Regions from separate parts of the Homo sapiens genome. Here regions 1, 2, 4 and 5 are each linked to region 3. The links are contacts of gene promoters, found by promoter capture Hi-C in blood cells and fetal thymus (Javierre and others, 2016). All regions are on one chromosome and are shown on one strand. Each heading gives the region's core, a stretch centred on a gene start or on the middle of the fragment in contact. The rest is flanking DNA. Distances are from core to core; before and after follow the strand shown.

Region 1 (5,407 bases), core at 1,473-3,972, 220 kb before region 3:
TGGAATTGTATATGTCAAACTTTTGAATAAATTTGAATTTCTAAAAGTTGGAAAAATAGAGGAAAGAGTGACCTATTTAGTATAGCCTTCCAGCTTTTTTTTTTTTCTTTTTTGGGAGGGTCTCATTCTGTCACCCAGGCTGGAGTGCAGTGGCACAATCATGGCTCACTGCAACCTTGACCTCCCGAGCTCAGGTGAGCCTCCCACTTCAGCCTCCAGAGTAGGTGGGACCACATGCGTGTGCCTCCATGCCTGCCTAATTTTTGTATCTTTTTGTAGAGATGGGGTTTTGCCATGTCATCCAAGCTGGTTTTGAACTCCCAAAGTGCTGAGATTACAGGGGTGAGCCACTGTGCCTGGCCTTAGCTTTGATTTAGTATCCAGATGATAGATGACACTTTTTTTTTTTTTTTTTTAAAGTGACGGCATCAAAGATGTTTTTGGTACTTCTCAGTACTTGCCTTGTATGTATACGTAATTGCCATCTGGTCCACAAGAATGTGTTTACTGTGTTACACAAATCCTGATTCTTTTCATCAGGTGCATAGTAATTCTTCTCTATGGCTTAATACCTATGTTCATTTACATGCTATCTCTACAATGTAAAAATAAAAGTGTATATATATACACACACACACAGAGAGTAATCTAAATGTTCCTAACACTAGATAAAACATTGATTTGACCTTGCTGTTTTTTATTCTTTGAGTGCATTTTAATTTTTACAGAAAAGGCCTTAAGCTGTAAACCGCTTGGTGACAACAGATTAAATTGGTCATTCTTCTCTTGGGAGTAGAGTGGGCTGCCTAATTATCTTAATAACATCCCAAATTGGAATATACTTTTCTTTGTAGCCTTGTAGCCTCATGAGCTTTCTAGCACTCTCATTTTGATCAAGAACATTCTATTCTGGATGAGCTCTGCAGGACATACAGCAGCTATATAGTTCATTGGGTGGTCACAAACTTGGCTACAGAATCACTCACCATGAAGACGAAACTTTAAATGACAATAAAAGCAGGGAGGCAATGGTACACTATCTTTCCCTTTAATCCTAAAGTTATCAGGTATATAGTTTGGACCTGCCACTCTGCTCCTTTTTGATGAAAACACTTATGGTTCAGTGAGGCCTAGAAAGGAAACAAATTTAGTAGGGTTGGTAGGAGAGCATCTCCTTGGACCTTTCACAGATAAGTTACTCAAATGCTTCAATTTCAAATATTTCAAAATTTAGATTTCTATTTGGTATATCCCCATGTTAATTCACTTTATATGCTGTAGAATAATACTAAATTTCAACTTAAGATGGATTTTATGCCTTTTTTGCTAAATGAGAAGTTGGGCTTACTAAGGTTTCATGGATCTTTCCTAAAGTCCAATAAAGGAGAGAAAAATTATGCAACAAATTTTATTTAGCAGTCCCAACATTCAGCACAAAAAGTTTACAGAGGATAGAAAGTGCATTAATAAAAGCCAGTCTTTACCAAAAGAAAACAGAAAATATATTATTGATTCAAAATATTTTACACTTGAATGATAAACTGCAATAACTTATTCTGGGCACCTACTGATAAAAGGAAGAGAAGAATACTTTAAGAAGAGCTCAACCTCCAGCTGGTATCAGAGAAGTCAGTAGAGGTCACTGAGACCGGCAGTCTTTCTTGCTTTTTGCATTAGTGCCCTCAGCTGGAACTGTTTACGGGACAGAAGACGTACATGCTGGGAGGGGAGAAAAGTTTGAATAGTTTAGAATGGCTTTGATTTAGGCCCAGGCATAAAATAGACAATTTGTAACCTAGATGGGATCTAAGAACCCTAACTCATGACCTGCCAACCTTTGGAATGAATACCTCATTATATGTGGCTTTTAAGCTGCATATTATAAAGGCTTACTCAACAGGGAAAGCATTACATTGCAGGATCTGGCTCAGGAGTTTGACCTACACTTTCTTTTCCTAAGCCATGCCACTCAAGCAAGAGATTGTACAGAAAAAGAGTCCTCTCTTGGGTCTCTGGTTTATATCCAGCCATTCATGTGGTTGTACCACTTCTGAGGCACATGGTTTGGCCATTCCCCCACAGTGAGAGGAGATAGGCAAGATCAGCACATGACCTGACCAGGCTCCAGCTACAGCTGGATCAGATATCCCAAGGGTGGCTGCTATTATCCCTAAAACCATGTTCTCCATGACCCAAGAGACAGCAGTAGCCAAACTTCGCTTACTAGATTTTCCTCTGTACAACAGCATTAAGCTTGAGACAACTTTCATACAAGAGGGCTTGAAAGGGCAGCCTGATACTTTGATGTGGGAAAACTGGTCTAAAGTTATATAACTCTAAGAAAATTAACAGATAAAAAATGGAGGTGGCACAATCAGTGATCTCAATTTAGGTGGTATGACCTCAAAGAACCAATGGAAATCTGATCGTACCTCCTGATCCACCCAGGCACAGAAGAGTTACACTCATCTTAATGCTGCCTGTGGGCAGAGAACTGCAGCCACCAGCCCACTTCTCTTCCCCTGCTCAGACCAATCCTCAGTACTCTGTAGGTAAAAAGATGGTGCAAAACCCTACATCTCATTTAGTGTTTTTTGGGAAGATAAAGAATCTTAATCCATACTACAAAGAAACTCTCTTGGTTTGTGGTTTGCAAGGTCAGTGCCTCTACAACCCAAGTTAAAAAATCTTGGAACGTAAAATGAAGAAATACCTTCAGGAAGACATCCAGGTCTATCACGCCCCTTCTCAAGGCTTCTCCCAAGTAAAAGATAGTGTCTTCAATAGCGTTTTCTTCTGCATACAGATTCAGGATCTGTTTGTATAAGGGAGCTGTGGGAATGATAACTTCATCGATATCATTGTTTTCAGACTGATTTTCCATTTTTTCCAGAGCAGAACTGAGTTCTTCATCCTTCTTTTTCAAAAGTTCTATGTTTTTATCAACCTCGGCCTGAAAACAGAACAGTCCAAGCATTAATAACTGTACATAATTATCCACTTGTCAGACACCTACAACACTTCACAGGAAAAGACAGGCTAACAACCATGTTTAAACAACTCATGGATGAGAATAATGTTTCAAATAACACCCTGGTCAAAGGTAGAGGAAAAGATGTGATCTACTATGCTGAGTGAAATAGAGTAATGATGGAGATATCCTGAGGTGACAGCACTTTCAGTGACAGTAACAAGCTTGTCACCTGTCAGCGACAAATGATACTGCAAACTAAGCCATCAGACAAGATACTTTCCAGCAGAAGGTTCCTTTACATAGAAAATCATAAGAGGTTTTTCTTCCCAACAAATGGGCACCTGCCATAGGAGAGTAACTTTCCTCAGTCTATGAAGAGGATTCAATGCATAGAGGCCCAAATGTCTGCATTCTAATCACAAAGTATCACACGCAGGTGCTGGTTGTAGGCTCTGAGTTGTATTGGTGTCACTTTCCTGAATTCTAAAAATTGGCTACTTCGAGGCTCATTTTACAATCTAGAACCACTTTGTAAGGCTAATGGGTACATACAAATCACTTTCCACAAAGCCCTCAACCTTCTAAGAATTCTTTACTATTCCATCAAAAACACACATTTACTGGAATAAATTCTCCCTCATGGGGATGAAAATGGAGCGTGAAATTGGCACTTCAATTATGCTGATGCTTCCACTTTATCATCATTAAGCAAAGCCATAGGGCTGACTTACACACGGACTGTCCAAGGCATAGCTGTCTGTTATGAGAAAGCTTAAAGAGCTGAAGGTTGCATATGCTATGTTTATATGTAGCTCTTTAGCCAACCAAGTATCTCTGGATTATTGAGAAAGTTCCCTGAACATACTTTTAAAAAATGGCTCACACAACCTTTGGAAACAATAAAATAGTACTGTCCTTTTAAGTCTGCTCCTAAGATGTGCAGATCTTTATCATGGCTTAGAACTCTCTAAACTTATTTCCTAGTAACTGGCAACATCAAGCACTCAAACAGTCCTCCTTTGGGTTAAAACATCCTTTGCCTAAAACATTTCCTAGGGCAAAGGTGTGATAAGGTTTGGCTGTGTCCCCACCCAAATCTCAACTTGAATTGTATCTCACAGAAAGGGACCTGTGTGCGTGTGTGTGTGTGTGTAGCAGGGGGTGGGGAGGGATGGCACGCAGGGGTGGTAATTGAATCATGGGAGCCGGTCTTTCTATTCTCGTGATAGTAAGTCTCACAAGATCTGATGGGTTTATCAGGGGTTCCAGCTTTTGCTTCCTCCTCATTTCCTCTTGCCACCACCATGTAAGAAGTGCCTTTTGGCTGGGCACAGTGGCTCACTCCTGTAATCCCAACACTTTGGGAGGCCAAGGTGGGTGGATCACCTGAGATCAGGAGTTCGGGACGAGCCTGGCCAACATGGTGATACCCCGTCTCTACTAAAAAATACAAAAATTAGCCAAGCATGGTGGCAGGCACCTGTAATCCCAGCTACTCAGGAGGCTGAGTCAGGAGAATCGCTTGAACCTGGAGGGTGGAGGTTGCAGTGAGCCAAGATTGCACCACTTCACTCCAGCCTGAGCGCAAGAGTGAAACTCTCAAAAAAAAAAAAAAAAAAAAGGAGTGCCTTTTGCCTCCCACCATGATTCTGAGGTCTCCCCAGCCATGTGGAACTGTAAGTCCAATTAAACCTCTTTTTCTCTCAAGTCTCGGATATGTCTTTATCAGCAGTGTGAAAACGAACTAATACAAGGTGCAAACAAAATGGTCTAAATATTATACCCCTCCCAATCTAAGACCAAATGCCAAACATAGGCTCCACTGTAAACAAAGGTATAAAAAATTACATTCAAATGTTTAAAGATGCCTATAATTTTCTGAACTCCTACTATGCCCACAACATCCAGGGAACATATAGAACACTCTGCCATGGCTACAATTCAATCCAAAAATTTTAAGTCTTTAATGAGTCACTTACTACTTCTTGATCTAAACGGGTAACCATCTCTTCCAGTTTCTGGTGACCCTTTTTCAGGTCTTCTTCTGTTCGTTTCAAGGCATTGAGCTCTGCCTGGGCACGATCCATTTCCTCCTTCATCCGCCATCTCAGTTTGTCACTGACCGCAGAGATGAGAGAGGCTCGGATGGTGTCCTCGCTGATTGTGCCATCCCTACTGGGACCTGCAGGAAACAGAGGCAAAAAACACTTGCTTACTTCCCAAGTTCCTTCTATTTGTCTCACAGGAACCTTCAGAAAAGGGGGCAATATGAACCGACACTTTCAAAATGTGAGGAAAGAAAAAAATTATGTTACCAGTTTCATGAGAAATAATGTAAAAATCTGAGTTGATTCAGAAATACTTGCCCTACAAGAGATTACTATTAATCCATGTTAAACCCAGTTTCCCTATTCATAGCCCAAACAATTAGCT
Region 2 (6,185 bases), core at 1,764-4,263, 250 kb before region 3:
AGATCCTCCCACCTCAGCCTCCTGAGTAGCTGAGACTACAGGCACATGCCACCACGCCCTGCAGATTTTCGTATTTTTTGGAGACAGGGTTTCACCATGTTGCCCAGGCTGGTCCTCAACTCCTGGGCTCAAGCAGTCCTCCTGCCTCGGCCCCCCAAAGTGCTGGGATTATAGGCATGAGCCACCACTCCTGGTCAATTTACAAATTAAGACTAGAACTGGACCAATGGGAAAGATCAGAAGGTAGATATGCAGCCCCTGAGGACTCGCATGACTAGTGAAGGCTGACTCATTTGGTCAGAGAGTCATGGCTTACCCTCTGAGTCTGTTATTCTTGCTCTCTTGATAGCTTTCATTCTGGTCATCTACTCCTGATCATGATTAGTGTCCCATTATTTTATTATTTCCCCTTTTTCTTCAGCATCTTCCCTTGAATATATACAATTATTATCAGTTGAGTTAGGATGAGGGCAAGGGGAGTCTTCTGTGGGTTTTGGCTTTTTTAAAAGCTCGTTTGTACATCAAAACTTCATTTTAGGAAATTCTTGCAGAGATTAAAAGGCTGAAAAATTGATACAGTTTCTACAGGGAACATTCTAGTAAGTAAAACTGCTCTACATGTCCCCAAGTGGCTGAAAATTGGTTCTGGGTATGGGGGAGGGAGGAAAAGGTAAAAAAAAACTTAGATATTACAAGAGTTTGGCTCTCCAGAGCTCAACCTTGCCTGACAAATAAACGTATATGTATATGTGTATGTGTGTGTATATATATATATATATATATATATATATATATATATATATAGGTTTTTTTTTTTTTTTTTTTTTTTTAAGAGATGGAGTCTTGCTCTGTCACCCAGGCTGCAGTGCGGTGGCGCAAGCTCCACTCACTGCAACCTCCACCTCCCAGGTTCAAGCAATTCTCCTGCCTCAGCCTCCTGAGTAGCTGGGACTACAGGTGCCTGCTACCACGCCCGGCTAATTCCTTTCCTTTTTTTTTTTTTTTTTTTGAGACGGAGTCTCGCTCTGTGGCCCAGGCTGGAGTGCAGTGGCACGATCTCGGCTCACTGCAAGCTCCGCCTCCCCGGTTCGCGCCATTCTCCTGCCTCAGCCTCCCGAGTAGCTGACGCCTGGCTAATTTCTTTTATATTAGTAGAGACGGGCTTTCACCGTTTTGCCCAGGCTGGTCTCGAACTCCTAAGATCAGGCAATCCGCCCGCCTCGGCCTCCCAAAGTGCTAGGGTTACAGCCGTGAGCCACCGCGCCCGGCCAACTCCTTAATATTTAATTTCATGATGGGGGTGCAAAACAATTAGGGGGAACATATCTACAAAGACTCTTGAGGGAGTGATAATGAAAAAAGATTGAGAAACACTGCTCTACATTTTATAAAAATTTGTCAATATGTATTACTGTATTAGGGTTCTCTAGAGGGACAGAACGAATAGGATAGCTATATATATAAAGGGGAGTTTATTGAGGAGTATTGACTCACACAATCACAAGGTGAGGTCCCACAACAATAGGCCGTCTGCAAGCTGAGAAGCAAGAAAGTCAGTCGGAGTTCCAAAGCTGAAGAACTAGGAGTCCAATGTTTGAGGGCAGGAAGCATCCAGCACAGGAGAAAGATGAAGGCTGGAAGACTTAGCCAGTCTAGTCCCTCCACGTTCCTCTGCCTGCTTTTATCCTAGACGTGCTGGCAGCTGACTAGATGGTGCTCACCCGGATAGAGGGTGGGTTTGCGTCTTCTAGCCTACTGACTCAAATGTTAATTTCCTGTGGCAACACCCTCACAGACACACCCAGGTTCAACACTTTGCATCCTTCAATCCAATCAAGTTGACACTCAGTATTAACCATCAAAATTACGTATTATGATTCACAAATGAGAAAACAATTAGGTAAAATGTGGTGGGAGAAGTAGAAACCTTGGTTTATTCCAGACTGATTTTCAATTCTACATTTTTGTTTTTTATTTTTGAGACGGAGTCTCACTCTGTCACCCAGGCTGGAGGGCAGTGGCATGATCTCGGCTCACCAAAACCTCCGCCTCCCGGGTTCAAACGATTCTCCTGCCCCAGCCTCCTGAGTAGCTGGGATTACAGGTGCGTGCCACCACACCCGGCTAATTTTTGTATTTTTAGTAGAGACGGGGTTTCGCCATGTTGGCCAGGCTGGTCTCGAACTCCTGACCTCAGCTAATCCACCCGCCTCGGCCTCCCAAAGTGTGGATTCTACATTTAACCACTTAATAATGAATTGAGCTTTCCCTTCATCTTGTAAAAATGGTTATCAATTGGCACTGCATTCATCAAATTCTTCAGGTTTCATATCTTATTTCCAAATTCCTTTTGCATACAGAGTTTTGTTGTTGTTTTGAGACAGGGTCTCACTCCGTCACCCAGGCTGGAGTGCAGTGGCACAATTTCGGCTTACTGCAACCTCCGCCTCCCAGGTTCACAAACAATTCTTGTGCTTCAGCCTCCCAGGTAGCTGGGATTACAGGGGTGCACCACCACGTCCAGCTAATTTTTGTATTTTTAGTAGAAACGTGGTTTCACGATGTTGGCCAGGCTGATTTCGAACCCCTGACCTCAGGTGATCCGCCCGCCTTGGCCTTCCAGAGTGCTGGGATTACAGGCGTGAGCCACCACGCTCGGCCCAGAGTTTTAAAATTTTACTTTTTCTACTTTAGCTCACATTTGAGGTGGTAAAAGTTAATCTTGAGGTCCCTTTCTCCTACAGGGCTGGGGGAAAATTTTCACGTGAGAGTCAAACAGTCCTTTTCAGATACATCCAGACAAGGTTTGGTTAGAAATAAAATTACTTGGGCTCTCTGGTGGATGGGTTCTAGGCAAACAACTCCGCCCAACAGCAGAGGCCCTGCACTGCGTTGTGCCTGCAGCACCTCGTGCGCCTTCTGCAGCCGGCCAACCACCTACACCGCAGCCCGCCCACCCGCACGCGGGGGCGGGGCGGGCAGGCAGAGGCGCAGGCGCGGTGCTTCGCAGCCCGCTTCCGGCCTCACACCTGCCAAGCATCACACCTGCCAAGCATCACACCTGCCAAGCATCACACCTGCCAAGCATCACACCTGCGATGCCTGCACGAGCTGGGTGCGGTCCGCGCAGCTGCAGTAAGGGGGCGACCCGGCGTCTGTTAGTCGGCGGTTCATCTCCTTCGTGCCTCGATGAGCTTTAACGCCATTTTCCTCCATTCTCTTTCTTCACCTCTTGAGTGAGTGGCCATGAGCTGGGCTGCAAGAGTCCTGGGGAGCAGCCAGAGAGCGGGCGCCGCGGGAGCGAATTGTTTTTGCCCAAGGATGGTTCTGTGTCTCCGCCAGGCGGCATGTGACCTGCTCGGGCGCGGGTGGCCCTTCACCCCTGTGAGTGTGGCCAGAAGTACCTCTCACCTGGACCTGCGGACCCCGGGCGCAGTCCTGGAGCTGAGAACTGGAGGTTGGGGGAACAGCAGGGTAAAGGGGAGAGAAAAGGGGGTCAGCTGCGGGACGGAGTGCCGTCCCAGCTGTAGTTTCATGTTTGGTGGAGCAACCCCTGTTCCTTTCCTCTCTCTCTCTCTTAATTCCTCTTAACTGTACTCACGCTTCCTTCTCCTTCCCCTGGTCCGCTTCATGGATGCTGAGCTGCCTGGCCAGAACCTACCCAGCTTCTTTGCTGGTCAGATTTGTCGGTCTTTTGTGTGTCTGCAGCACCTCCTTCCACACGGGCCCAGGAGTTCTCTATACGCGCTCTCACCGCAGGTCTTGGAATTCCAAGCCATTTCCAATTCCAGGTCTTGGAAATGGCTGTGCAATTTGTCTTCACTGTTAGGTTTCCAAGATGGCAACTATCAAGAGTGAACTTATTAAGAATTTCGCGGAAGAGGAGGCCATTCATCACAATAAGATCTCCATTGTAGGAACTGGATCGGTTGGTGTGGCTTGTGCTATCAGCATCTTATTAAAAGTAAGTTGTGTGCTCTGCACCACAGGGTTCACCTCAGTTGGAGGCGAGGCCACAGCGTATGGTTGTGGAGGTTGTGTCCAGTTCAAGGTGGTGAGTGGGGAGCCAGTGTGAGGGGCATCAGAGGAAAAGGTGCCCTTTTTTTAGTTGTTCACCCAGAGGGCGCTCCTTTTTAAAAATTGTATGATGATATCATGTGGGTTAGAAGCATCTCTGTGAAAGTATGTTGACATTTCACTTTCACGTAATGACAATATGAGGTACCCCTTTGCTTGATTTGGAAACTCAGCTCACAAAACAAACTGGAGAGAAATAGGTGGCAGAAAAGAGTATACAAGCGTGTCAGTGATGGTAGGCAGCCTACGAGTACCAAATACAATAATCTTTTTTCATTTAAATATCTCTCTCCCATTTCCTAGTCTGTATATCTTTATTTCCCTTCGTTCCTTATTCATGTTAGGTTAGTTTTAGTGTTTAGCTGTTCTTAGTATTGATACAGCTGATAAAGTTTTATGGCTATAGACAGAGGCCAAAAAAAGATTCTGACCCCTTTCTAAGAATATTACCCTGATATGAACTTTATTACCATAAAGTTTTAATAAATCATAAGACACTCTGAGCTATACTTTTATTAATGAAATATCTGTAAAATGTTTTAGCCATCTTTTATATAACCTTTAATCCTGGCATGAGTCATTGGATTTAAAGGATTGCCTCTGGGTTTCATATCTAGATGACATAGTGACCTTATGGCACTAAGGACAGCAGCCACAGCCAACTGCTGCTCCTGCCAGCCATACAAATTCCCCATGATTCATTTTGTCCTACCTATTGTAATGCCTTTATCAGCAGTGTCCTCACTGCTAATGAAGAATACACACACGTGAAAACCAACACATCTGTGACTCATTGATTGTTTGATGGGGCCTCCACGTATTGCCCAGGCTGCTCTCAAACTCCTGGCCTCAAGCAGGAGGTCTCGGCTTCCTAAAGTGCTGAGATAACAGATGTGAGCCACCTTGCTTTGCCCAACACATTTTTTTTAACATCAGTAATAATGATAACAGTATGTTTGTATGCATTATCCAATATTACAACCCTGGAAAGTAAATATTAGACCTACTTTTTAGAGGAGAAAAAAGGAATAGACTATCTCTAATTGCATGAATAGATAAGTATACAGGTAATATATATAGAAAAGCTTGAAATAAAAGATTTATTTATCACCTCTGCTTTGAAGGGCCATTCAGGGAGGGACTGAGCCATATCCCTGGAACTCCTACCTCTGCCAGCTGCTGCTTGGCTTTGGTTGCAGGAGTGGAGGGAATTTTGGGGCTTCTGATGGGAGGTTCCAGGGCCCAGGATAGGGCAGTGCCATGGGGCTGCACTTGTTTCATGGCCCTATCCATGATGGGAGGTCCTAGATAGATCTCAGGTGGAGGTGGTGGATAGGAGTACAGAAGGGCAGGAGTGCATTCCATTGCAACTGGTGATGGGAGGCACAGGCCCCACCGGGCATGTAAGAGCATCTGTAGGCTCCACTGGTGGCTTACCTCTGGAGGCTTAAAATGCCACCTGTAGCACCCATTGTTCAAACTCAGTGGTGCTCCCTGCTGTAAAGGTATGAAGCAGAGCCTTCCCAGTCACCTCCTGCTTCTAGAACTTGAATTCTAGTATGTTGCTAACTATGGCATTTGTATATCTTAGGAAATAGGGTACACAATCCCCCTATAAAGCCTCAGGTTAAGGCTCACTTTAATCTTTCCCTGTCCTGGCCCTAGACACTGCAACTTCTGTCATTCAAGGAGGTGGTGATAGCCTAAAAACTCCTTGCTGATAAGGAATTCTCAATATGAATTGTTCAGGAATTTATTGTCAGGAATTTGTGGTATGAACCTTGTAGAGAAACAGTAATGTCTTTAAAAATTACTGAGTTTTACCATAATACATAAACTTTAATTAGTATAATGCGAGATCCACTTTTTCTTTTAGTGTTGTATCTGGAATCTAGAAGAGTGCCTCCTGTAATTGATATTTAGTAGTTGGATGAAAGAATTGCTAAAAGATGCCCATTAAAATGGAATGCACTGGATTGTGAATATAAAGATGGGATATTCTGTTTACTTTCATTTTTATAAATAAGGAAAGGGAGTCCAGAGAGATTGTTAGGATATATTTTTATAGACTTTATTTTTTAGAATAGTTTTAGATTTACAGAAAAATT
Region 3 (6,124 bases), core at 84-2,583:
GGTGGGGGAGGGGGAAACCTTCTTGGTTTGGGATTTTACCATGAGAGGAAAGCTGGGGGAAATTTAAGCAACAGAAAGCAAGGCAGGCCAGCTTTGCATTTAGAGTTCATGCTGCTAGCTGTGTGGCTATGAAGACAGTAGACTGGGAAGGAATAAAATGCTTCCCCCTATGTGTGCACACATGAGTAGAAACATGGCATGCATGTACAAAAGGGAGGGTTCCCTTCGCTCCTTCCCTTGTTTGTGCCCCCCACCGGTCCTTATCCTAGACCAGTTTTAATTTTTATTGCACATCAGAATCACCCGCAAAATTTTGTAAACATATAGGTTATTTCCAGAACCGTGCCAGAGAGATCGTGATTGGTGAGTCTGGTTGAGTCCTGATCACCAGTATCTTTTTTCTGAAGGCAGGTCTAGGCTCACCAAGAGTTGCAAACCACATCTTATCTAGGGATTGAGAACTCTCATGTCTGCAGGGGCCAGGCATATAACAAATGACATCGAAAGGATGGGAGAGTGGTAAGAACTGTGGCCAATTAAGAATGTTTGCACCACCTGTTGGCAGTCAGATTAAAAAACGGTGCCAGCCAAATAGTTGACCAATGGCCCACAAGACCAGCCTTTTGCGCCTCTCCCCCTCCTCGAGGCCGGACCCCGCGGCGCCCTCACCATAGACGGTGAGCGTGCAGCTGCTGCGGTCCTTGCCCAGCTCGTTCTCCACCAGCACGCTGTAATCGCCGCTGTCCTTGAGCGTGCAGGTGGGGATGACGAGGGTGCACACGCCGCTGGTGGAGTTGTACCAGAACTTGGAGTTGGCCGTGATGTTGACGTCGCCCTTGTAGAGGGTCACTGTGGGCCGCGGGTTCCCAAGGAAGGCGCAGGTCATGGTGCAGTCCTGGCCGCGGAGCACCGTGTGTGGCTTGAGGGGCGTCACGAAGCGCGGCGCGTGGCGCCAGTCCTTCTTCTCGTAGGGCTTGAGCTTGGCGCTCAGGTCCTGGACTGCGCGGGCGGGGCGGGGCAGGCCGTGAGGGCGCCCCAAGGCCCCCACCCACCACCCACGTCTTACAGTTCAGCTTACACGGAACCCCGAGGACCTAGGCCACATTCCCAGCGCCACCAACTCTGGGGGCCCAATGTTACACTGGTTCTTAAGGGCTCCCCACCCGCCCCCAGGCCTCCCCCGACCCCCCAGCCCCGTCCCCAGCCACTCCAGGGTTCTGCCACCCAAACCACGCTTTCCCACACCCCTGGGGCCGAGATGTCATTCCAGCGCCAGCTTCCTGGACCCGGTTATTCCCAGCCTTTAACTCCGCCTCCAAGCTTCCCCTACGTCATATCAGCGACCACAGTCTCCCCTCTTATCCCTTTAGCTCCTCAGTTCGAGTTTCCCGACGCGGCCCCCACCCTTAACCCCTAGCCTCCAGGGATCCCAGACATCCTCCCGGCTCCCTAGAGCCCTCCCCTGTTCTCAGCCCCGTTAGACCCTCCCCTCAGAGCAGAACGCGTTTGCGCTCTATGTCCCTCCGCAGCCCCTCCACCGTCCTCTCTGCCCCCAAAGGTACCTCCCCACCTCCACTTTAGTCTCACCCCTAAGTACCCCGAAGAAAGCCAATATTTCCTTCTCTCCGCAGCGTCCCAGATATTAACCGTTCTATCTCAATGGTTTTCAGATTTTATCTTGCCTCTTGGGTACCCTTTGGGACCCTTATGTCATCCCCACCATCAGGGCACCCAGACTTAACCCTAACTGCAAGTCCCAGACTCACTCTGGTCCTTATTGATGAGCCAGGTGTCCCTGGAGTCAAGTGGCTCACTGTCACCGATTTCATTCCGAGCCACCACTCTGAAGTAGTACTTCCTGCCTGGGAGCAGCCCCGTCACTGTGTACTTGTTGCTGAAGACACGCTCGGCTGCCGTGTACCAGGTGGCTGTGCTTGCATCCCGCTTCATGATGATGTAGTGAGCCTCACCGTCCTCCTGCACATCTGGGCTGTGGTTCCAGGTCAGAGTCACTGTGTTGGGGACTTCCTCAAACAACCGTAGGTTTGTGGGGGGCCGAGGGAAATCTGGAAGAGTTGGAAGATCTGTCAGCGACCTTGGGGCACCTGAAGTATTATGTCCCCACCCCAGCCATCTGCCAAGTCCGATGGAAGATAAGATGGGGCAAGTCTCAGGCAGCTGGTGTCTTGGAGTCGGAAAACTATTTCTGAAGTCTGCTCTGCCATTTACTAGCCTCGTGACCTGGGGTAAGTTACTTATCTGAGACTTCTTTCCTCAATTGCAAAATAGAGCTGACAATGACTATTTCGTAGAAATAGTGGGTAAAGAGACTGGCATGTAGTTACTGTTCAGTAAAAATGAATCCATTCCTTCCTTGGGGGTTTAGAGCTTTATTTTAAAGCTTCCAGCTCTCTTTAAGCAGTCACCCCAATTTTTAATGGATTCATCTCCATTTGTCCCTCCTGCCCCTCCACCCATTTCTACTCTCTCTGCCGACCATACTCTGTATGATAAAGTCTTGCTCTGTGGTGTCAAAGAAATCTTCATGGCCCTAAGGCATGACTTTCCTGTGGTAGGAACTCAAGCGGCACTGGGGAGCTGTGCTTTGGAGAGTGTACAGGGATGGGTCTTGGAGGCCTCTGCCTTCTCTCCATACCTGCCACGCGCACATGGATGTCATAGCGTGCTTCTCCAAACTCATTCTGAAGCAAGATTCGGTACACCCCTGAGTCAGAGCGCTTGGTGCTATTAATGAGGAACTGGGAGTGGTTTTTGCTCTTGGTAATTGTCTCTCGGCCCTTGGTGGGAACGCCATCTTTCTGCCAGATCACGTCAGGTGGTGGTGAGCCCTGAGTAGTGACAGGAGATGGCACAACTGGTCACACAGATGATATTTGGGGGCAGGCCTTCCTCCATTGTCGAGGAGTTTCCTGCCAGGCTGTCGCACTAGGGGTCTGGTGAGGGGCAGAGTCAGAGTCAGAGTCAGAGACTGTGATGGCTACAATAGCCATCTTGGTTATGTGGACAGTGTATGGAGGTCAGGGTCAGGGACAACTCACAGAGAAGGCTGCATGGATGCAGAGGGCTGTCCCAGCGCGAACCACCATGTGACTCTTCAGCCGGGCACTGAGGTCAAACTTGGGTGCAGCTGAGATGGAGGAGACAGAGGTGGAGGCATGGATCTGTCTTTCAAGAAGACTCTGCTTTAAGCCTCCTCATCAAAGCCTTCCCAACCTCTCCTCCTTTATGCCCCCACTACAGGCCATACAGACATCTAGCTGCCCTGCAACCCTGTGAAGCATTTATTTGTTTTCTCATCTGTCTCCTTCTACTAGTACGCAAGACCCTGGAAGGCAAGTCCTTGTGTCTTGTTTCTATAACCCTAACACCTCCTTTTGAAATTGCCATTGCAACAATTATAACAGCGAGAAAATTATGACAGTGAACGAGATCTGATCTAACCAACCCCCATCTTGCCTTTACCCTCCAAACTGCCCTTAATCATTCCTGGTTTCAGACCAAGCTAATGTTGGGAGAGACATTTAGTTTATAGCTTAGATGATAACAGTCTTCCCCCAAACTAAATCACCTTTGCGAAGCTAATGAAAGGCCACCAGGTTAGGAGGATGTGAGGAGCCTGAATTCTGCTAAGGTGTAGACATAAAAGATTACCAGCCATTATTCCAGAGATCACAAGATTTGCAACTCCCCAGCTGCTCCTGCAAATAACATCACTATTGTAGAGCCTAAGATTGGTGGTTGAGATGTCTTTTCAGGTTTTTGCATTTCTGACGACTGATGGCTCCACCTGGACCTGCTCTCCCTCCACCCCACAAGTCCTGAGGCCCCAGTCAGAAGCAGGCTCCCTGGACTTTGAATTTTCGGGGAATTGATTTGGGTAATAACTCTGTCTCCCATACAGCATGGCTGGCCTTGTGTCCATTAAACTCTTTGTTGCAATGCTGTGGTCTCAGTGAACTGGTTTTGCGTGTACAATGCGCAAGAAGAACCCATTGGGTGGTTACACCTTGACACACAGTAGATGCTATTTGGCACACAATGATTGATTTAGTAGGGGTGCCCCTGAAGTTACCCCTAACTTTGTCCAGGCACAACAACTATGGATGACTTTTTCATGATCCTAGCATCATCCAATTTTCCTGTGGGATGAGGCCCCAGAGGAGAAGGTTTGGAGGTACAATGTTGGGCATGAATCCCCAGCCCTCTCTGTGTCCTCACCTGGTGGTGGCATGGCACGGACCCCCTTGTCTAGCTCCACAGGCTCCCCAACCCCAGCCTCATTCACAGCCCGGATTCGGAAGAAGTATTTCTGCCTCTCGATGAGTCCTCCCACTGTGTAGCAGGTGCCTGAGATGGGGATCTTTGTGCACTTGGACCACTCCTTTGTGTCTTCAGCCCTCATCTCAAGGATGTAGCCAGAGGGTGGGTCTCCCTCTGCAGGCTCCCGCCAGGCCAGGGAAATGCTGGAGTTGGAGGAATCAGATACATGCAGGTCCTGGACCAGGCCTGGGGGTTCTGGGGTAGAACAGACATGTAGTCAGCCCCTCCAACTCATCTCCACTCAATGCCTTGCTCACTTCCCACACTCAATACTCCTGAACCCCATCCTTCACTACTTCTAGCTCCAGATCCCTCAGTTAACACCCTTAGTACCTAGCCTTATACACTCAACCTCCAAATTCAAATTCAGTTATCTTACTGTTTTAACACTTTCATCCTTAAACTCAATACCCCTTAAATTCAACATACCCCACATATTCAAAGCTTCTGTATTCAAAACCCCAGCCTTTAACCCAACCATCTCCACCACATCCACTTCCAGGCAGTACCTTCACCTTGCTTCCTAAATGCAACACCCTCCAACCATCTACCTCACACCCTTACTCAACCCTCAGCATGCCTCTCCTACCTCACCTAACTAGAAATACACGAAATTTAAAAAACGTTTTTGCACCCCACCTCCTCACTGTCCCTGACTCTCAATCTTTATTTGCTGGCTTTCTCTTGTGTGTGAATCTTGTCCCTCTATGAGGCTGGCAGTTTCCAGAGTGTAGAGACTGTGATACCTCGTGTCATACTTTCCCGGGGAAGAAATTCTTTCTCTACTTTGAATGGGCTAATTCCATTATGTGTCAGGACCTGGCAGCCGCATACTCACTAACAGGATCCTTGGCCACTACTGAGCTGGATGGCACACTGGGCTGTCCAGGGCCTGCCTTATTTACAGCTATAACTCGGAATTCATATTCTGTGTCCTCCAGGAGACCATCCACAGTGCACTTGGTGCCTGAAATGGGAAGATGAGGGGTCGTGAGGCCAGAGGCATCCATGGGGTGAGAACAAGAGTGAGAGACATAGAAGAGGAGGTCATGGGATGTTGTTAAAACTTCCAGAAGAGTTGGATGAGGGACTGTGTCAGTAGTTAATGGGTCCACTCAGCAAGACCTCCTTTGGTCACTCCTGGGCCTCTGTTCCAAGGACCTCACCCTGGATGGGGTCCTTGTTGACTGGCACCCACAGGTTGCTGCCTTTCTTCCTTCGTTCTACAATGTAGCCGAGCACTGGGGCTCCCCCATCCTGGGTAGGGGCATTCCACGTGATGGTCACGGCTTCTTTAGTCACATCAGTCACTTGAGGCTGGGAGGCAAAACCAGGAGGCTCTGTGGGGGAAAGAGAGAGTGCAAAGGTTAGGAGGGGGAGCATGTAGATATTTGCCCACCTCATGCTGACTTCTGCCTCGCCTGCTTAAATAAACTCAAACCAGTGATTCTTTTTTCTTTTTCCTTTTTTAGAGACAAGGTCTCACTCTGTTGCCCAGGATGATCTTGAATTCTTGGGCTCAAGTGATCCTCCTGTCTTGGCCTTCCGAAGTGCTGAGATTACAGGCATGAGCCACAGTGCCTGGCACAAATGATTCTTAACTTTGCTTGCACATTAACATCAAGTGGGAAGTAAAAACAAAAATGAAAACAAAACAAAAAAAAAACCACTGACAACAACTAGTGTCTGGGTCCTGCCTACCCATATTCTATGCCTGGTGTGAATGGCAAGTATTATTAGCATTATTAAAGAAACCAAGTGATTCTAATGTATAGCCGACATT
Region 4 (6,291 bases), core at 915-3,414, 150 kb before region 3:
GTGAAACCCTGTCTCTACTAAAAATACAAAATTAGCCAGGTGTGGTGGCACACAATTGTAATCCCAGCTATTCGGGAGGCTGGGGCAAGAGAATCGCTTGAACCCAGGAGGTGAAGTTTGCAGAGAGCCAAGATTGCACCACCGCACTCCAGCCTGAATGAGTGAGACTTGGTCTCAAAAAGAAAAAAAATTAGGCTGGGCGTGGTGGCTCACCCCTGTAATCCCAGCACTTTGGGAGGCCAAGGCGGGTGGATCACGAGGTCAGCAGATCGAGACCATCCTGGCTAACATGGTGAAACCCCGTCTCTACTAAAAATACAAAAAGTTAGCCAGGCATGGTGGCATGCGCCTATAGTCCCAGCTACTTGGGAGGCTGAGGCAGAAGAATCACTTGAACCCAGGAGACAGAGGTTGCAGTGAGTCGAGATAGCGCCATTGCACTCCAGCCTGGGTGACAGAGTGAGGTTCCGTCTCAAAAAAAAAAAAAAAAAAAAAATTAGCCGGGCATGGTGGCGTGCTCCCGTAATCCCAGTTACTTGGGAAGCTGAGGCAGGAGAATAGCCTGAACCCAGGAAGCGGAGGTTGCAGTGGGCCACGATTGTGCCACTGCACTCCAGCCTGTGCATCAGAGCAAGACTCTGTCTCAAAAAAAAAAAAAGAAAAGAAAAAAGAAAATACAGTCACTCATATGATGGAATATTATGTAGAACGTTTTCAAAGAAATAGAGTTACTTAGAGCTATATGTACTGTTAATAAACATCTTCAAAAGTGTAGAATTAATTCCTTAATAAGTTAAAGATCAAATTACCATATAATCCAGCAATTTCACTTTTGGATATACATCCAAAAGAACCAAAAAGAGGTATTAAAAAAACTGGTACATGAATGTTCATAGTAGCACTAGTTACAATAGTGAAAAAGTGCAACCCGATGTCCATTAACTGATAAATGGATAAATAAAATGTGCTATATCCATACCAAGAAACATTAGCCACAAAAATGAATGATGCACTGACACGTGCCACAACATGGATGTACCTTGAAAACATTATGCGAAGTGACACAAAAGTCACATACTATATGATTCCATTTATATAAATTAGCTAGTAGAGGAAAATCCACAGAACAGACAGATTAGTAGTTGCCAGAACCTGGGAGAAGGGAAAATGGGGAGTAACTGCTCAATGTGTACAGAGCTTCCTTTTGGGGTGGTGAAAATGCTGGAAATTAGTGGTGATAGTTGCACAACATTGTGAATGAGTACCTAAAGTCACCAATGGTAAATTTTATGTTATGTGTATTTGGGCACAATAAAAAGATAAAAGGATTTAAATATATATACTATTATATGCAAAAAACAAGTGCAAAATCAATTCCCTCGGTCTGACTCCTAAAGCAACTACTCTTAATAGTTTCTTTTTTTTTGAGACGGAGTTTCGCTCTTGTTGCCCCCAGGATGGAGTGCAATGGCACGATCTCGGCTCAATGCAACCTCTTCCTCCAAGGTTCAAGCAATTCTCCTGCCTCAGCCTCCTGAGTAGCTGGGATTATAGGCATGCACCACCACATCTGGCTAATTTTTGTATTTTTAGTACAGATGGGGTTTCTCCATGTTGGTCAGGCTGGTCTCAAACTCCCGACCTCAGGTGATCCTCCCGCCTCGGCCTCCCAAAGTGCTGGGATTACAGGCGTGAGCCACTGTGCCTGGCCATTTTTTTTTTTTTTTTTTTTGAGACAGAGTTTTTACTCTTGTTGCCCAGGCTGGAGTACAATGGCACAATCTCAGCTCACTGCAACCTCCGCCTACCAGGTTCAAGCGATCTTCCTGCCTCAGTCTCCTGAGTAGCTGGGATTACAAGAACCCGCCAGCATGCCTGGCTAATTTTTTGTAGTTTTAGTAGAGATGGGTTTCCACCATGTTGACCAGGCTGGTCCTCAACCCCTGACCTCAGGTGATCCACCCGCCTCGGCCTCTCACAGTGCTGGGATTACAGGCATGGGACACCGTGCCCAACATCTTAACAGTTTCTTAGTATTTCTCCAGATTGTCGGTATATACACAAGCATAAGTGTGTATGTATGTATCTGTATGTAAATTTTCATGCTCATATGTATATATGTATATCCCTCCCCAAAATGTTATAGTAGCTATTAAAAAAGACATCAAATGATCAGTCAGCTGCAGTCATCTATGTGTGTTACAATGGGGCATTACTAAAATTTCCAAATGAGCTTTAATTCCCCGAATTATTGATGTACTTCGCCATATCTCAGAATATATTCATGAGAAGTCAGTTAACATTACATTTAAAATTACTTCATCTAAGGATGGTTGCAGTGGCTCATGCCTGTAATCCCAGCATTTTGGGAGGCCAAGGAGAGAGAACGGCTTGAATCCAGGAGTTCAAGACCAACCTTGGCAACATAGTGGGACCCTGTCTCTACAAAAAATGAAAAAATTAGGGCCAGGTGCGGTGGCTCACGCCTGTAATCCCAGCACTTTGGGAGGCTGAGGAGGGTGGATCACGAGGTCAGGAGATCAAGACCATCCTAGCTAACATGGTGAAACCCCATCTCTACTAAAAATACAAAAAATTAGCTGGGCATGGTGGTGGGCACCTGTAGTCCCAGCTACTCGGGAGGCTGAGGCGGGAGAATGGTGTGAACCCGGGAGGTGGAGCTTGCAGTGAGCCGAGATCGTGCCACTGCATTCCAGCCTGGGTGAAAGTGCGAGACTGTCTTAAAAAAAAAAAAAAATTAGTCAGATGTGGTGACGCATGCCTGTGGTCCCAGCTACTTGGGAGGCTGAGATAGGAGAATCACTTGAGCCTGGTAGATCCAGGCTTCGGTGAGCCATGATTCTGCCACTGCCCTCCATCCTGGGCAACAGAGTGAGACACTGTCTAAAAAAAATAAACAAATGAATAAATAAAATTACTTCATCTAATAGTAATTAAATAAATGCTATCAGAAATATACAACCAAGCTGGGTATGGTGACGTGCACCTGTAGTCCCAGATACTTATGAGGCTGAGGCAGGAGGACTGCTTGAGGCTAGGAGTTTAAGACCACCCAGGGCAACATAGCAAGACCCTGTCTCTGCAAAAATGAAAATAAATTAGCCAGGAATGGTGGCACATGCCTGTAGTCCAAGCTACTTAGGAGGCTGAGGTGGGAGGATCGCTTGAACCCAGGAGTTTGAGGTTACAATAAGCTATGATGGCACCGCTGCACTCCAGCTTGGACCACAGAGCAAGACCTTGTCTCTAGAAAAAAAAAATGTACAACCACAATTAATAAGGGGAACATGAATGAAAGTTACCCCAAGATGATATACACTCATTCAACATTCAACAGATAATTACTGACTCCCTACTTGGTGGCAAGCACCATGCACTACACATCTATTCCAAGGATTCTAGTCTTTCAATTATCTGAAGCAATACCTATTGATGGTTGATGAGACACACAGGAAGAAACAATTTCTTCAGTCCTACGTGGCCTCACAACCTCTAGAGTCCATATACTGAAGAGTCTCCTAAAGTGATTTTGAAGAGTTAAGAGGTCCTTTAAGAACTTCAGTACCTGAAAATCACAGGCACAAGAGAATATCCAGTTCCCCAAAGAACTTCTACATGAGACCTACAAAAAAGATCCTTAAAGCAACTATGGTACTCTTTCCAGAGAAGGAAAATGAACTCATTGTATCCTACAGGCAGCCGAAGGCTTACTAAAACTTTTACACCTAACTTTTACAACTGATAGGTATAATTTCAACTTTTCTGACTACCATTCCTTAGTTTATTGAGGCTTGTAATACTGTATGTCTTTATATATTATTTGGAAAATATTGTCAAGGAATAAAGGGGACCTAAGGAAAGGCAAAGGAAAGCCAAACAACTATAGCATGTTATAATCCGACCTTACCCATAACTTGGTAGAAAGGCTTTAGGAAATGTTTATTCTAGTTCAGTGGCCTTTTTTCTTTTTTTTGGATCATGCATCCTTGGTAAAATACTTTCAACTCCACATCCCCAAATACGGTATTTACCTACATAAATATGTCTATACTAATATGTTACGTACATTATAAAATACATGCAAATTTTTTAATTAAAAAATGAGATAGGGCAGGGTGCGGTGGCTCATGACTGTAATCCTAGTACTTTGGGAGGCTGAGGCGGGCAGATCACTTGAGTCCAGGAGTTCAAGACCAGCCTGGGCAATAAGGCAAATCCTGTCTCTACTAAAAATACAAAAATTAGCCAGGTGTGGTGGTGCATGCCTATAGCCCCAGCTACTTGGGAGGCAGAGGTGAAAGGATAGCTTGAGCTGGGGAAGTGGAGGTTCCAGTGAGCTGAATCATGCCACTGCACTCACGCCTGGGTGACAGAGTGAAACCCCGACTCAAAAAAAAAAAAAAAAAGAGAGAGAGATAGAAAATTTAACATTTCAAACGTTTTGTTTTTGTTTTTGTTTTTGTTTTTTTGAGACAGAGTCTCACTCTGTCGCCCAGGCTGGAGTGCAGTGGCGCATCTCGGCTCACTGCAAACTCCGCATCCCGGGTTCACACCACTCTCCTGCCTCAGCCTCCCGAGTAGCTGGGACTACAGGTGCCCGCCACCATGCCCGGCTAATTTTTTTGTATTTTTAGTAGAGATGGGGTTTCACCATGTTTGCCAGGATGGTCTCGATTTCCCGACCTCGTGATCTGCCTGCGTCGGCTTCCCAAAGTGCTGGGATTACAGGCGTGAGCCACCGCGCCTGGCCCACTCAAATGTTATTGACACAGAAAATCTTTTTATTATTAAAATTTATTTTAACAATATATTTTTAGTGCAATGAATGTAAACTGAATTTTTTTTCTTTTTTTCTTTTTTTTTTTTTCAGAGACAGGGTCTCGATATGTTGCTCAGGCTGGAGTGTGGTGGCTATTCACAGTCACAATCCTAGTGCATTGCAGCCTTGAACACCTGGGCTCAAGTAATCCTTCTGCCTCAGCCTCCCACGTAGCTGGGACTACAGTCATGAGCCACCACACCCAGCTAAATTTTTTTTCTTATTCTTGGTTTAGCACTTTGCTATATACCAAAAGGTAGGTATTATTTCTACTTTATAGATGAAAAAACTGAAGTTTGAGAGATTATATAATCTGACAAATGTCAGCACTATTATGGCAGAGCAGGGATGGAAACTTCTATCTGTAGAACTCTAAAGCCAATGCTCTTAACCAATATATTCTAAGAAAAGAGGCAATCAGAGATAAATTTATTTTGAGGTATAAGTCAAAAACAAAGAATAACTCCTTCTGACCAATCTGAATAAATCTGAATTATTTGCTCATTTGATTCCTATTAATATAATCAGTTAAAATCCCTGAATGACTCTTTGGGTAAGTCATTTAACTTATTTCAATCTTAGTTTCCCAATATGTAAAATGAGAGACTTGGACAAGGTGATCTTTAAGGTGCTTTTCAGCATTAACATTCTAGGAGTCAAAAATGAAGATCTAATAAGGCATACATCTTTAAGCAGAATAAACAGACCTTTGCTGATCTCCACATTAGGAAGGTTGAAGATTTCAAGGTCCATCGTGGCTCCTTTAGTCCCTTCTGAGAGGTCTAAGAGGACAAGCCTGTCTGCAATACCCTGTACAGTAAGAGAAAGAACATTACACTGAACATGGCCAGTGACTCAATTTAAATTCATTCAACAATGAGGACTAAAGGACAATAAACAGGCCTCATACACTGTCTTTTAGTGTTAAGAAGAGTAAGTAACACAATAGCAATAAAAGTGACATGCAAGCAAGAAATTATTAACTTTGGCTGGGCTTGGTGGCCTGTAATCCCAGCACTTTGGGAGGCCAAGGCAGGCGGATCACCTGAGGTCAGGAGTTCAAGACCAGCCTGGCCAACATGGCGAAACCCCACCTCTACTAAAAATACAAAAACCAGCCAGGCATGGTGGCACATGCTTATAATCCTAGCTATTCAGGAGGCTGAGGCAGGAGAATCGCTTGAACCCAGGAGGCAGAGTTGCAGTGAGCCAAGATTGTGTCACTGCACTCCAGCCTGGGCGATAGAGCGAGACTCTATCTCAAAAAAAAAAAAAAGAAATTATGAACTTCAATAAGTAATCCTTTAGGCTTGACTACTAAAAGCTTTAACAGGGCTTAACTCACAAGTCACAGATTGCAGGTTTCTTTTGAGAACAGCATTTCACTCTTGTCGCCCAGGCTGGAGTGCAATGGTACAATCTCGGCTCACTGCAACCTCTGCCTCCTGGGT
Region 5 (5,704 bases), core at 2,282-4,781, 200 kb before region 3:
TCCTACTGAAATTTCTAAATCCACCTTTCTGAAAACTGGGATAAACTGCTCTTTTTTTCTGGAGTTTCTCCCATTTTGCATACCTTTGCAAAGATAATGTGATCACATTGCTGAATTTTTTTGTAACTTGGTATAAAACTCTTCTAAGCCTACAGATATTAACTTCAGAGAAATCTCCATCTGTAGCTTTATTGTTCAGAAGTCCATTTCCATAGTGTACCTTCAACAATTATTCCCTCTATGTCCAAAGCTGCTTTTTACTAGCAATTGTTCAGTAGCCTTGTAATTTCAAGGCTTCAGGTAGGATTCCATTTCTAGAACTTAATCAGAAAATTTAGGGCCTCAAGAAATCTAAAATGAATAACCTGCTTATATATTACTACCAAAGGAATCTTTCTCTATTGTCCCTGACAAATGTTCTTCTAATCTCTGCTTACCTATCCAAAGTGACAGAATGCTTATTACCTTCTAAAAAGTTGTGAAATTAAGACAACCCAGAAATGAAGTGTTTGCTAAATTAACTTTCAAGATCCTAGATATTATATATGTACATATATATATTTACCTATGACATGTGTTCAGAAATCTGGCTGCATTTATCCATGAGGATTATGACTGGGTTATATGAAACTAAGAAGACTTAGTAGAGTTAAATTTTCCTTGCTAATTGTTAGAGCAGCTGGAAGTCTCATCTTGGCATCAGTATATGCCAATCTTTTTTTTTTTTTTGAGACAGGTTCTCACTCTGTTGGCCAGACTGGAGTACAGTGGTGCAATTACGGCTCATTGCATCCTCGATCTGTAGGCTCAAGTGATCCTTCCACCTCACCCTCCCAAGTAGCTGGGACTACAGGTTCACACCACCATGCCTGGCTAATTTTAATTTTTTTTGTAGAAATGAGGTCTACTATGTTGCCCAGGCTGGTCTCCAACTTCTGGGCTCAAGCAATCCCTACCTCGGCCTCCCAAAGTGCTGGGTGGGATTTTAAGTTAGCCCATAGACCACCTTTGGAGAGTACTCCTAGATTACCACTGAAACAAGTACACATTTAAAACATGGGTTAGTAATTATTTATCATTGACTTTCTAGCGTGTGTTAACAGACTGATTTCATTGTTAATTTAATTTAGTTACCTATGTTATTACTAAATGGATAATAAAGGTTGATAGTACAGGTAGTCTATGAACTGAATAAGTAAATATCATGCGACAAGTTTGACCCCATTATCTGAACCATTAATTGATTCCTGCAATGTATAGAAAAGATAGGTTGTGGGGTTTTGTTTGTTTGAGAGAGAGTTTTGCTCTGTCGCCCAGGGTGGAGTGTAATGGCGCGATCTCGGCTCACTGCAACCTCTGCCTCCTGGGTTCAAGCAATTCTCCTACCTCAGCCTCCCAAAGAGCTGGGATTACAGGCATGTGCCACCATGCCTGGCTAATTTTGTATTTTTAGTAGAGATGGGGTTTCACTCTGTTGGCCAGGCTGGTCTCGAACTCCTGACCTCAGGACCTCAGGTGATCCGCCTGCATCGGCCTCCGAAAGTGCTGGGTAAGATTACAGGTGTGAGCTACCACACCCGGCCTTATTGCTAGAATTTTAAGGTGTGTGTGTATAATTTGAAAGGAGTTTCTTTCAATCTACAGAAAAGCAGCTCCTGGGCTGCATTTTTATTTTAAAGAGGAAAGAAATGGGTTGAGTAATGACAGTGATCTCAATTGGTTTTTGATCTTGAAGTCCTTTTAAGAAATTTGTATATCTAGTATAGATAGCTGAAATATTAAATGGAATGCTAGTTATAATGAATTCAGCCAAGGGGAAAAATATTTTATAATACTCTCTTCTTTTAAAAAAAAAAAAATACATAGGCTGGGCATGGTGGCTCACACCTGTAATCCCAGCGCTTTGGGAGTCTGAGGCAGGCAGATCACAAGGTCAGGAGTTTGAGACCAGCCTGGCCAACATGGTGAAATCCTGTCTCTACTAAAAATACAAAAATTAGCCGGGAATGGTGGCACAGCCTGTAGTCCCAACTGCTAGGGAGGCTGAGGCAGGAGAATCACTTGAACTGGGGAAGTAGAGGTTGCAGTGAGCCGAGATTGCGCCACTGTACTCCAGCCTGGGTGACAGAGCAAGACTCCATCTCAAAAAAAATAAATAAATAAATAAATAAATTCCAGGAATAAACCAAGTTTTATCTTCCACTAAATTGCAATTAAATTTATTTTAATGCCCTAATTAGCAAATTATTTTGATTCTAGATCTAATAGAAGAATTTGTAATACAATTATTCAAAAGAACGTTTTTCATTACCTGGGATTGGGAGGGTATCCGGATGGGTATGGAGAGATTCCACCTGGCATGCCTGGCATGTAGGAAGCTAAAAACAATTTTTTTCACATTGTAAAAATAATATACAAGGCCTGAATATGTAGGCTACTGAATAAGATATACATCACACTGTCAATACACAGCAAAATTTCACAGTTAAAAAATCCAAATCTCAGCACCAAAACAAAACAAATACCTCTCCCTTTCATAATCCTGAAATCATTAAACATGAATTACAATACTTATGACAATCCCTACCAAAAGAACTGGCAAACAGGTCAACCTGGTCAGCTTTTAAAGTTCTCAAGAAGTCTATTACCTAAGAGCAAGTTCAATTTCAAATTTAGAGGAAGGTAATTCTGGCCTTCTTCGGTCCAAGGTTAACTTCTTAGAAAGTAACTTCTTTATTATATCTAATAAATCTTTTGATATTTCTTTTATAACTATGTTGGCCAATTAGCACAGCTGATTTTGTTGGTTTAAAGACTTCAAGAGACTTCAAACTACTATGAGAAGTCCTATACAAAACTTACATTATCCAGACTGTTAAAAACTAGTCTAGGTGACAGAGTGAGACCCTATCTCAAAACAAAGAAACAAACAAAACAAAAGCTTAGAAATACTAGGGATAAAAGGTTAAAACCCAGCAAGCTTAAAGAATACTTTATACATTCTTTAAAGAGAACGTGAATGCCAAAGAACTAAGATCAGTGGTGCCAAGAGGCTAATCAACATAGAGGAAGAAAAAGAGAAGTTAATCTTGAGCTTAACTGACAAAAAAAAATAGTAAAGAATCTGCTCTAGAGTGTTTAACATGACTTACAGTGACTGAGTACAAAATTGAATTGCAACAGTAACAATAGTATGGTCTCTTTCTTGAATACTGCACTTCCAATGTCAATTTAAAACTCAAAGAAATTTAGGAAAAAAAAAATGTTGCAGGCCGGCCGCGGTGGCTCACGCCTGTAATCCCAGCACTTTGGGAGGCCGAGGCAGATCACTTGAGGTCAGGAGTTCGAGACCAGCCTGGCCAACATGGTGAAACCCCGACTCTACTAAAAATACAAAAATTAGCTGGGCATGGTGGTGGGGGCCTGTAATCCCAGCGACTTGGGAGGCTGAGGCTCGAGAATCACTTGAACCTGGGAGGCAGAGGTTGCAGTCAGCCCAGATCATACCACTGCACTCCGGCCTGGGCAACAGAGCGAGACTCTGTCTCAAAAAAAAAAAAAAGTTGCTTAGGAGACTACCTGAATTTCTGAAAAGGTTACCTTTGTCATAGCGGTCACTCGCTATATTATCTGAGCAAATAAACAAAGGTAATGAGACTAGGAAATATTTGATATCTTTTTTTTTTTTTTTTTTGATACAGAGTCTTGCTCTGTCACCCAGGCTGGAGTGCAGTAATGCGATCTCAGCTCACTGCAACATCTGCCTCAGCCTCCCGAGTAGCTGGGACTACAGGCATGCACCACCACACCTGGCTAATTTTGTATTTTTAGTAGAGATGGGGTTTCATCATGTTGGCCAAGCTGGTCTTGAACTTCTGACATCAGGTGATCCACCCCCACCTCGGCCTCCCAAAGTGCTGGGGTTACAGCTACCACACCCGGCCAAATATTTCGTATTTCAAACTTAAGCAAGATACTCTACTCTTGGGCACTAGAGTCAACAGAATTTAATAAGATAAAAACAAATTTCTAATCCAAAGGAATTACCAGTACCTTTACTAAAAGAAATAGTAATCCTAAAATCAAGCTTATTCTGGGAAGGTAGGGAAGGAAAGAGAAATGGGTTCAAAAATTCTTTCTGTTAAATTCCCATTCAGCTTATAAACCAAGATGTTCCTCAGGAAAGAATGGATTAAAAAGGAAAAAGTATAATTTTCAGCAGAAGAAAAATGAAAGCACATATAATTTGTCTTGTAAGATAAACAAGTTTGGTTAATTATAATCTTAAAGAAAATTTACCAAAAAAAAAAAAGTCACAGCTCAAAACACAGTGAAATCAATGCAGATTTAGTAAATTCAAAATAAGTACAACCAACTCACAATTATTCAGAGTGATTTTTAAGTATCAGTAAGAATTATTCAAGAAAATAGAGATAACAGAGATAATATATTCCAATTAGGGGAGAAGCAACACTCTCTCCATGCTCCCACCACTCCACACAAGGTAAAATCATGAATTGGCTGTACGAAAGAGAAGAAAGCTAAGAGCTAGATGTCCAATTGTGTATACCCAGAATAGCTGAATGTGAACGCTTCAGTTGACCTTAATCCTTATCTACAACACTGATTTTGTAGTTGCAAAGAGAAAGGAGAGGTCAGACTACCTTTCAAGTTATATGTGCTTCCAAGCTGATCAAATAAGGCTATTCTGCAGCATGCATAATTTTAAAAATTCTAGCTCTATTCTACACTTTCTCCTCCATTTTGGAATCCAGCACAACCATTCTTAGATTTCTACCTACAAATGGAAGCCCAAATGCCAGTCTTTGGTGGGAATCTGTACATGCAGATGTGGGGCCTCAGAATACTTCCAAAAAATCCACTAGCTTGATAAACTAAAAAGCAAAGAAGTCATTATTTTTCTTTATTTTTTTACAAAGGTTTCTGTTCTCTTTTGTTTATATGAGTTTTAAAGTAAAATCTCAATTCTACTTACTATTTGGTGGCCCCGTTGCCTGGTATGGCGGATAGGATGCCGAAATAGGACGAGAGAAGACTGGAGGTTCATCTCCAAATACCACAATCATGACCTGAATAAGCCCCAACAAGTCTGACTGTGGCTACAAAATGAAAAAAAATTCAAGTCAGCTACAGAGTTGCTTTTCAGTAAAAAGAAAAAGGTTAGCCATTTCTCATCGGTTTTCAACTCAGCTTGATAATTTTCTTTGTAGGACCCCAATCATGAAAATTTCATTTAATTAATTTATTTTAATAGAGTTAAGTGGTTTTAAACATGATGTGCAGCAAGGTTCTTGCTTCAAGTATATAAAAATAGCACTAGTTAAAGCAGCATATTGCAAAATTCATAGAGTTTTGTTCTTCATTTGACTCCACAGAACTAACAAAAATTTATTTTATTGCCACTGTACAATGTATTATAAGTATACTGGTACAAATTTAGGGATGAATATGAGCAACAGTCACAATATTATTAAAGGCCATTAAAAGACATCAATGATATCTTGGAAATACGTGTTCTTAAAATTAATTTTTATTAAAGATATTATGAACTCTGAAATTACAGGTAGATTCTAGCCAAGTGAGGTGGTTCACACCTGTAATCCCAGCACTTTGGGAGGCCAAGGTGGGTGGACTGCTTGAAGCCAGGAGTTTGAGACCAGCTGGGCCAACATGGCAAAATCCC

Evidence for each region. Contacts are between HindIII fragments. The CHiCAGO score rates a contact against its expected background, and 5 or more counts as called.
Region 1: a contact is called between a fragment that was not itself captured here and the fragment with the promoter of IGSF22-AS1 in region 3, in 1 of 17 cell types (activated CD4 T cells). The highest score is 5.6, in activated CD4 T cells.
Region 2: the fragment with the promoter of LDHAL6A here is called in contact with the fragment with the promoter of IGSF22-AS1 in region 3 in 11 of 17 cell types (erythroblasts, activated CD4 T cells, total CD4 T cells and 8 more); the score reaches 9.3 in erythroblasts.
Region 4: a contact is called between a fragment that was not itself captured here and the fragment with the promoter of IGSF22-AS1 in region 3, in 3 of 17 cell types (activated CD4 T cells, naive CD4 T cells and total CD8 T cells). The highest score is 9.3, in activated CD4 T cells.
Region 5: a contact is called between a fragment that was not itself captured here and the fragment with the promoter of IGSF22-AS1 in region 3, in 2 of 17 cell types (activated CD4 T cells and naive CD4 T cells). The highest score is 9.3, in activated CD4 T cells.

The regions. Positions count from the first base shown.
Region 1 is chr11:18,478,917-18,484,323 of GRCh38, forward strand. TSG101 (tumor susceptibility 101) reads right to left here. Exons shown (of 10, transcript NM_006292.4): 8 at 4,954-5,156; 9 at 2,714-2,953; 10 at 1,395-1,719. The coding sequence ends at 1,630. LDHAL6A (lactate dehydrogenase A like 6A) reads left to right here. Exons shown (of 7, transcript NM_144972.5): 7 at 1-685. Among named protein-coding and RNA genes, the nearest start is that of LDHAL6A, 26 kb to the left of the region's middle. The HindIII fragment of the contact is 942 bases long and covers 2,252-3,193 here.
Region 2 is chr11:18,452,843-18,459,027 of GRCh38, forward strand. It overlaps LDHAL6A (lactate dehydrogenase A like 6A), which reads left to right and starts at 3,014. Exons shown (of 7, transcript NM_144972.5): 1 at 3,014-3,964. The coding sequence starts at 3,839. The HindIII fragment of the contact is 8,824 bases long and covers 1-5,160 here.
Region 3 is chr11:18,705,148-18,711,271 of GRCh38, forward strand. It overlaps IGSF22-AS1 (IGSF22 antisense RNA 1), which reads left to right and starts at 1,334. Exons shown (of 3, transcript NR_186353.1): 1 at 1,334-2,002; 2 at 2,131-2,246. IGSF22 (immunoglobulin superfamily member 22) reads right to left here. Exons shown (of 23, transcript NM_173588.4): 16 at 5,508-5,681; 17 at 5,180-5,308; 18 at 4,240-4,536; 19 at 3,060-3,148; 20 at 2,657-2,849; 21 at 1,767-2,066; 22 at 670-999. The HindIII fragment of the contact is 1,081 bases long and covers 1,319-2,399 here.
Region 4 is chr11:18,552,681-18,558,971 of GRCh38, forward strand. UEVLD (UEV and lactate/malate dehyrogenase domains) reads right to left here. Exons shown (of 12, transcript NM_001040697.4): 7 at 5,548-5,650. Among named protein-coding and RNA genes, the nearest start is that of TSG101, 29 kb to the left of the region's middle. The HindIII fragment of the contact is 7,996 bases long and covers 1-6,162 here.
Region 5 is chr11:18,504,546-18,510,249 of GRCh38, forward strand. It overlaps TSG101 (tumor susceptibility 101), which reads right to left. Exons shown (of 10, transcript NM_006292.4): 5 at 4,997-5,120; 6 at 2,312-2,378. Among named protein-coding and RNA genes, the nearest start is that of TSG101, 20 kb to the right of the region's middle. The HindIII fragment of the contact is 1,107 bases long and covers 2,979-4,085 here.